Linked DNA regions of Homo sapiens: regions 1 and 3 are each linked to region 2. Evidence: promoter capture Hi-C in 16 types of primary human blood cells and fetal thymus (Javierre and others, 2016). All regions are on one chromosome and are shown on one strand. The core of a region is centred on a gene start or on the middle of the fragment in contact, and the rest is flanking DNA. Distances in the headings are between cores, read along the strand shown.

Evidence for each region. The method cuts DNA at HindIII sites, captures the fragments that hold promoters and counts their contacts. A CHiCAGO score of 5 or more calls a contact.
Region 1: a fragment that was not itself captured here is called in contact with the fragment with the promoter of GK5 in region 2 in 1 of 17 cell types (fetal thymus); the score reaches 6.3 in fetal thymus.
Region 3: a contact is called between a fragment that was not itself captured here and the fragment with the promoter of GK5 in region 2, in 1 of 17 cell types (fetal thymus). The highest score is 5.2, in fetal thymus.

Annotation. Positions count from the first base shown.
Region 1 is chr3:141,490,704-141,493,403 of GRCh38, forward strand. The region is part of intron 1 of RASA2 (RAS p21 protein activator 2); the gene reads left to right. Among named protein-coding and RNA genes, the nearest start is that of RASA2, 5.0 kb to the left of the region's middle. The HindIII fragment of the contact is 702 bases long and covers 984-1,685 here.
Region 2 is chr3:142,224,060-142,226,848 of GRCh38, forward strand. It overlaps GK5 (glycerol kinase 5), which reads right to left and starts at 1,526. Exons shown (of 16, transcript NM_001039547.3): 1 at 1,250-1,526. The coding sequence starts at 1,396. RefSeq lists silencers at 1,060-1,279, 1,470-1,709. The HindIII fragment of the contact is 7,101 bases long and covers 1-2,291 here.
Region 3 is chr3:141,576,168-141,578,953 of GRCh38, forward strand. RASA2 (RAS p21 protein activator 2) reads left to right here. Exons shown (of 24, transcript NM_006506.5): 15 at 833-939. Among named protein-coding and RNA genes, the nearest start is that of RASA2-IT1, 52 kb to the left of the region's middle. The HindIII fragment of the contact is 640 bases long and covers 1,170-1,809 here.

The sequences.
Region 1 (2,700 bases), core at 85-2,584, 730 kb before region 2:
AAGATCTATAGGGTATGGTTAAGTGCTTGAGCTTAGAGGCTGGGTGAAAAAGTTAGTTACCTGGGTTTGAATCTTCACCTAATTTCCAACTTTTGTTAATGTCTTTGGGCCTTCATATTCTCATATATAAAATGGGGATAGTAAAAATACCTATCTCACGGGTTGTTATGAGGTTTAAATAAGCCTCCCTCCCTACTCTGCCCCTCCTCATCTCTGCCTGCTCTTTCTCACTCCCCAGGATCTGGGTCATACACCGACCATCTCTTAGGAAGGAGTAAAGTAGGAGATAAAAACTAATCTTCATCTGATGTTCTTGTCCAATGTATACTGGAGTTTCCAGGTGTACAAAGCTGATTAAAATCTGAAGACCTATATTCTTCTTTAAACGTTGTTAATTAATCTTCATATGGCGTTAGCCAGCTCACTTATCTTGAAGCTTACCTTCCGCATCTTTTAAATGGGAATGATGCTTTTCCACTATCCATTGTATACAGGTTGTTCCCTCTGCTTGGGATTGTCTTTCTTCTTTACTCCACCCCATCTTTATGTCAGGAAGCTCCTACTCATCCCTCAAAAGCCTGCTCTATGTGATCTCCTTCCCAAAACCTTCTGAGACACTTCCAGTGCCATCTCTGGCCAGCATCTCTGCTGCTGGGGAACACAATTCCTTGCTCATTTCCTTATTATAGCACATTTCATAGAAATCATTTGTTCACTTCTCCTGTTAGATTGTGAGCTCTTTCAAGATAGAATTGATTCTTGTTCATTTTTAAAAAATCATCCCAGTGTCAGCACAATGCCTAGAACAGAATAGGCCTTTAGAATATGCCCTACCTCACAATGTTATCCTGTGGATAATTACTAGATATGAAAGTATTTTATAAATTATATACCTAAAAAAACTAGAAGGTGTTAGTATTAAGAGAAAACTGTATGAGTCTGCATCAGGAAGTTCATCCCTTTCAAAATCACAGTGCCCACTAAGCTTAGGTTTGAATTGATGCCAAAGTTGCCTTGTTAGGAAAAAGATTAAATTTTTCTTAATGCTCTGATTACTTATTATTAGGGCATTTGAATATTGTTACTAATTGGTCCTGGAGCTTGGAAAAGAAAATCTCATATTCATACTTTACACATTAAGTGTTTTAATTTGACATGACAGGTTTGAATAAAACCGTCTATTTAATTCTGTGAAGTATAAATCAAAACATTTTATTGACTATCCAGTAAAGTTGAGTGGAAGAGATTAAAAAGGGTGTATTCATGCTAAGAGTTCATTTTTATCAGATATTTGAAATGAGATGATGAGTTATTTAGGATGGAGGAAGAATCCATCTTTCAGATGGATAGAAACTGGGGAGAAAAGGGTTCTTTGTAAAAGTTCACAGAGCAGTCTGCTAATCATTTGCTCTGTGGAAGACGGGAGGTAAACCTCAGTGAGTTCATAGAGTTGTTTTTTTAAAACTTAGAACTCTTTGAATAGATCCTTAAGTGACTAATATAGCCAGAATAAAACCATCATTTTATCCTTTAATCATAGCTGCTAATCCTATTTCCTTGTTAATGTGCTTTATGAAATTATTTGACAATAATATCAGATTACATGTTTTTGCTACTAATAAAGTTCTATTCTCTTTTGAGAACTGCAAACAAAATGTTGTATAGTCATATATTCATGTAAGTTAAGCTTTTTATGTGTATTAAGACATTTTTATGGCATCTCTTTAGGTTTGTATGTAATTTTAGTTATCAAAAACCCCTATCTAAAGTGATAAACATTAAAAGTTTGTATCAGTACACATACAGAGAACCATAAATGACAAATTTGTTTTCCTGTCATTAATGACAATGACTTTGGGCAAATTCTTTAACCTTGCTGAGCCCGTATTTCCTTACTTGTAAAATTAGAGGTTTGGATATGGTCTTTAACATCCCTTCTACCATTTTGATTATTGCTTTTTAACTTGAACCATTTGCTTTAAGGCAGTACATCAGATGCTTTATTTTAGTGTTTAAATGTATTTAGTACACTTGTTTTGCATGATTCACTGTTTTAAAAATATTTAAGATTTATTAGATAAGAGCGTTTGAATTCTAAATTTTTTTTCTGTGACTGTTAATTAATTCAGCAGCACGTAATACATATCGAAGGGTCTGTTAAGAGACGCTAACCCACTGGACTGAAATGGGCCTAAGCTGTGAATCGGATGAAAGATCCTATTTTATCCTAAAGTCTATACTAAGCAATAGCTGTTTTTAGACATCTGTATTCTTAGACAATTATAGAAATTTAAAGCTGGAAGGTAGAGAACATGAAGGTAGAGAAAATAAAGGTTCTTACCCTTCATTTTACAAATGAAGAATCTAACAGAGACAGCAAGTGTCACACAGTTGATGGCCTGTTCGGCACTAGTCCACTATTATCAAAGTTCTTTCTAGAATGCTATATGAGATTAACTTATTACTATGAATGTTGCAAATGTACTACATTTAATACACAGAGATTATACTACTTATCTGTTTATATATTGAGAGGTGGTAAGATTTTCACTGTGCCGTCTACACACTCTTAACTGTTCCTTCTTAAGAACTTTGTGAAGTGGTTAGGATTAGTGATGAAACTATGGTTATGACCTAGGTGGAGATTGAACCTGGATGTTTAGTTACTTGTGCCATGGTCTACCTCAGCTATTTTCAGTT
Region 2 (2,789 bases), core at 276-2,775:
CCCTCAAATTTCTAACATAAAAAGATGTTGGTACTGGGAAGAGAAAATAAGAACACCATAACAGGCTGGCTGCAGTGGCTCACGCCTGTAATCTTGGCACTTAGGGAGGCCGAGGCGGGTGAATTATTTGAGCCCAGGAATTTCCAGACCAGCCTGGGCAACATGGCAAAATCCCATCTCTATTAAAAAATACAAACAAATTTAGCCAGGCATGGTGGCCCCTTGCCTGTAGTCCCAGCTACTTGGGGGGCTGAGGTGGAAGGATCACTTGAGCCCAGGAGGTCAAAGCTGCAGTGAGCCGAGATCACAGCACTGCACTCCAGCCTGGGTGACAAAGTGAGACCCTGTCTCAAAAGAAAAAAAGGAACAACAATAAGAACACCATAACAAATAAATATTATTTTTGGTGCATTGACAATTGTGTATAAATCAACACTTCATTAATATGAGAACAGAAGGATATCAATTTGTTGGTTGCTGACCAATATTATCAACAATTCAAGGCTTTACTAACAACCAACCAATGATTTGGCAGGTCTCTCAAACGAGGGGAAATAAAGAATTTTATGAATTCTCAAAGATGGAAAATAGAAAACTGATGACCACACAGCCTTCAAAACTTGCCCAATACCTCTAATATCCACGGCAATCAGTTGCTCACGTAAGGAACCAGCATTTTGTGGAGTAGTAGTTAATAAAGATGACAAGTGAAGAATAGAGAATAAACTTAAATTCTACAAAGATATGAAAAGTTATTGAGGCACAAGTCCAAAGGCTATAATAAAGAAAAAAGAAAAAAAGTTTTGAAAAATTAAAATGTAAATAAAGATGTGGTGGGAGATCTATCAGGGAAGTGCAGGAAGAACCAAGCAACTCACAAACCACCCTCTGGCTGGATGTGCACAGCCTGCCCAGTCCCGTCCGGCGAGTCACCTCAGTCCCATCCAGGTAAGGCCGGACAGGTGGCTCCCCAGGTGGCAAGAGGCAAGCGAGCGGCCCAGGTCATACACCGGGCCCCTGGCACCCTCAGCCTGGACAGGAAGGGCGCGCGGGATTCAGCCCAGACGAGGGAGGGAACGCGAAGACTCAGCCGGTCTGGGCGCGCCGTTCTGGCCCCAGGGCCCGCGGGTGCTGCAGGTGGCCGCGTCCAGGGCGGTAGGTGGGGCCTGCCCGCTCGCCTCCCGAGGCCGGACCCCGGGACTCAGCGAAACCCAGTCAGACCCGCGCCCCACGCCCGCCCCCAAGTCACCTTCTGCACGCTGGAGCCGCAGACCCGCGCCGCCCGGTCATAGACGTGGCAGCGGATCACAGAACTGCCCACATCCAGCCCCAGCACGAAGCCGGGGTACCGCGGCTCCTGCGCTCTCTGCTCCGGGTCCGTGAGCAGCCCCGACATCCCGATCCCGCACGCCTCTCCGCTACAGCCGCCTACCCAGAGGGCGCGCTACAAATCCCAATGCTCCAGAGTCCCCGGGCGGCCCAACCCGGGCCCCAACCCGGCTCAGCCGGAGAGCCTAGAGAGGCCTGGCCCCTGCCGCCGGCTCCACCCCGACGCCGTGACGCCACGGGCGCGCGCCGGCGGCCGCGCGGGAGGGGTGGAGGTGAGCGGGTTTGCGCCGTGATCTGCAGCCCCAGATCGCCAGCCATGCTCAGCCTCCAGTCGCCGGCCGCGGTTGGATTGACTTGGCCCTTAACTCTTGTTTTTTTTCTTTTTGAGACGGAGTCTCACTCTGTCGCCCCGGCTGGAGTGCGGTGGCGCGATCTCGGCTCACTGCAACCTCCGCCTCCCGGGTTCAAGCGATTCTCTTGCCTCAGCCTCCCGAGTAGCTGGGATTACAGGCGCGCTCCACCACGCCCGGCTATTTTTGTATTTTTAGTAGAGAAGGGGTTTCACCATGTTGATCAGGCTGGTCTCGATCTCCTGATCTCGTGATCCGCTCGCCTCGGCTTCCCAAATTGCTGCGATTGCAGGCGTGAGCCACCGAGCCCGGCGGCCCTTAACTCTTAATTTTTTCTTTTGCTTCTCCAGCTTCCTGAGAGGCAGCGCCAGCGTTTCTCTTAACCCTAGCTACATTTGAAGAATCTCTGTTAAAGAAAAATAGCTACCCCATATGCTAATCGTAAGGAGAGAAGTATAGGCTAGTTTATATAAAAATCTCAAAAAGTTTGGAGGTGCCATAAGGCACATTTATTCATTTCTCAACTATGATTATGACTTGAGGGTTGGAGAAATTTTTATCTGAGTAACTTTGGCAGACTAACCTGTGTCTGCGTTCGTGCAGAATTTTTCAAGCTTAAAACATTTGTAGAGGTCACTACCATATATAGTTTCCATTTTTTTGCTAACATTTTGGGTGCGACTTTATTTCAGTATTATTAAATGCACAGCCATTGAATATGCTAGAGTTAAATGAAATAAAGTGCTGTTTTTCAAAAATGAAATAAAACAAGTGACATAAAAAATTCAAAATTTGGCCAAAAGTATTAATATTTATTAACAAACTGAGAGCTCCCCACGACTTCTCTTCCCAGAAAACCTGGTAAAGTTTGCACACAATACAAAGCGGTAAATATTTGCCAAATGAAATACAACGCAAGGAAGAAGACTTTTCTCAGCCCTCTAGTGGGAAAGAAAGGAGAAAGCTTAAGGTGGCTGCTTTGACCATCACACTCCACTCCAGCGGTTGCTTTTTTTTGGAATCTGAAAGCCTCACAGAGACCCTTTACCTTTTGTTGCTGCCCAAGGGGATGGGCTCATCCAGACACTTGGCCAAAAGGAACAAGGTGTC
Region 3 (2,786 bases), core at 240-2,739, 650 kb before region 2:
GACTATAGTAGTGACAGTTTTGTTGCCATAAGTGTTTCATATTCTCTCGTTTTTGTTGTTCTTACTACCCTAGAAGAATGGGGGAAGGAGGGCAGAGCAGACAGCAGGTAGAAAGCAGATATTACTAAAGAATGACAAATTAAACGACTTGTTAATGGTTACCTACTGAATGACTTAGAAGAGTTAAAACTCGAACCAAACCTAAAGATTCTTTCCCTCACCATCTGCTTCACCACCATCTGTCTGATTGTTGGGTAAATTGTTGACTCCAGTCTGAAACGAAAGTTGTAGGTGAATGATCAAAGCCACCAGTAGTCTTCAGTTCATCTGCATTTTTATTTATGGACTGTTGATAGCTTTTTAAAGTAAACATTTCTGCCTAATTGTTTTTGTTGCATAACTTTTGATATTATCAAGATTTTTGGGGGGGATATTGAAACAAGAACCTAAAACTGAAAGTAGCCTTGTATCATACTCTTAAGGGATTCAGTGTTACCACTAGGTAGTGCTAGATACTACTTTTATTTCTGTTGTAATTTTAGCAGTCTCTTCTTGCAGGTGAGGAAAGAGGTATTTTTCAAATTAAAATATTTCTGAAAACCTAGCAGCTTTGTCTTTTTTCATATTATTTCTTATTTCTTTTGGATTTTTTTAATCATAGGGGTTTTCTTTTAATTGAGTCATAAATATCACTATCATTTCATCAACTCAGTTCTTACTAGACAAATTATGTTGCTCTCCTAGTTTACATGTCTTTTCTATATTTTTTAATTTATCATCTTTGTTTTTTAATTGTTTTTGTGCATGACATTTCACCATTTTTTTCCTGCAGATGACCCTCATGTTCAGTATTCTGCAGTGAGCAGCTTTGTATTTCTTCGTTTCTTTGCTGTAGCCGTAGTATCACCTCATACTTTTCATTTGCGACCTCATCATCCAGTAAGTGTTCATTCTTCTGAAAGCTTTATTCCATTTTTTTAATTTTTATTAAAATGAAGAAAAGATAAAATAAACCAATTTCACTAGGCTGTATTTTCTTATAACTGATACTTAAATTTACTCAGCATTTTTCTTGGCCATTTCAGTCTTTCAAGTGAGGCTAATAATCCTATTTTTTGTTGTTGTTAAAAGATGTTCTACAAGAGTAATAAAATGTTGTTAATTATTGAAGCTTGGTGATGAGTACAAAGGGGATTTATTATATTTTTTCATCTGCTACTGTGTGTGTTTGTAAATTTCCATAAGTTTTTTTTCATTAGTTACAGGTTTCATTTTGATAGGTTTTTTATTTAAACAAAATCTACTTTCCTGATTTATTAAAATAGGTTAATTTTGCAGATATTTTTAAATTGCACAGAAATTTGAAGAGGCTCTTCTCTAAGAAAGAAGGCTACAAGAGAAATTCCATTTAATTTAGAAACAGCATCTAAGATAGATTTCAGTAGCAATGAAACTGAAAGCATATAATTAGAAAATATTAAATGGCAGGTGAACTGGATAAGCATTAACAGTAAAAACAGAAAAAGAAACCAAGAATGCAGTATAGTGAAAGGCGTAGGAACTTTTATTGGAATATAACTTGTTAAATATATCAGTATTTTCACTTTTTATTTACCTGAGGTAATACTGTAAACATGAGATTTAAAAATTTCTTAAGCATATAAACTTTGTTCTGGAGTCCTGTTTAATTACCAAAAATCTAAATCTCCACTGCATAGATTTACATGTTTATTTCTTAATTTTTAAAATTCTTTATTTTTGCTATACTTCTGATTCCTTCTTATATGGTGTAATTTGGTTGATTCTTTAAGCTTTTATGTTCCAAATACTTTATAATCTTACCTAATTGCTCCTAGTTGCTGATTTGTATAACAAATAATAACAATAGTCCACATTTATTTAGTGCTTTGTACTAGGCCTTGTTCTAACTACTTTATGTGTTAACTTATTTGGTCCTCCTAGCAACCTGGTAAGGTAAATTCTGTTATCATCCACATGTGCAGATAAGGAAATCACAATACAGTAACTTTTCCAAGCTCACACAACTGACAAATTATGATTTGATCATACTCGATTTGAATTGGATTTAACTGGGATTCAAATTCAGTCAGTCTTTATCATCTGTGAGCTTAATCCTATCCCTTCCAACCTCTTAGACAGATGTTCAAGTACCTATAATGTATCATTCCATGCTCAGTACTGGAGATGCAGTGATGAGTAAGATACTCTTTGCCCTTAGGAAACTCACAGCCAAGAGGAGTTGCTCAATAGTGTAGGGAAAACAGATGAGTTTTAGAGTTAAACCAGGTTCTGAATACCCATTTCTTCTCTCAACGGCTACATGACATTGACACTCACTTAACTTTGTGAGAACTGAATAGAACCATGTTGCAGTGGCAGCACCACGCCCTTTCTTGCCAAAGGATAAATGGTCTGTGAGTAGCCCCAGCAGAGAGTGGGCCAGTGTCCTTTTGTTCACAGGGCTGTCCATTCTGTGGCTTTGTTACTAAAGCTGCACAGAACTCTGAGGCAGTGAAAGCGTGGTAGCAACATTCTGGACATAAACAGAACACCTACTTCTGAACTTGTGAGTCTGCCTTGTATTCATACTTGAATTTGCATATTCCTGTAACAGATGTTGGTGGATACTTAGGTTGGTTCTATGACTTTGCTATTGTAAATAGTGCTGCAGGAAACATGAGTGCAGGTGCCAGGACATCTTTAAGAATATTATTTTCTTCAAAGACAGAGAATTGTAGGGACCTTTTATAGATGTAATGAAATCC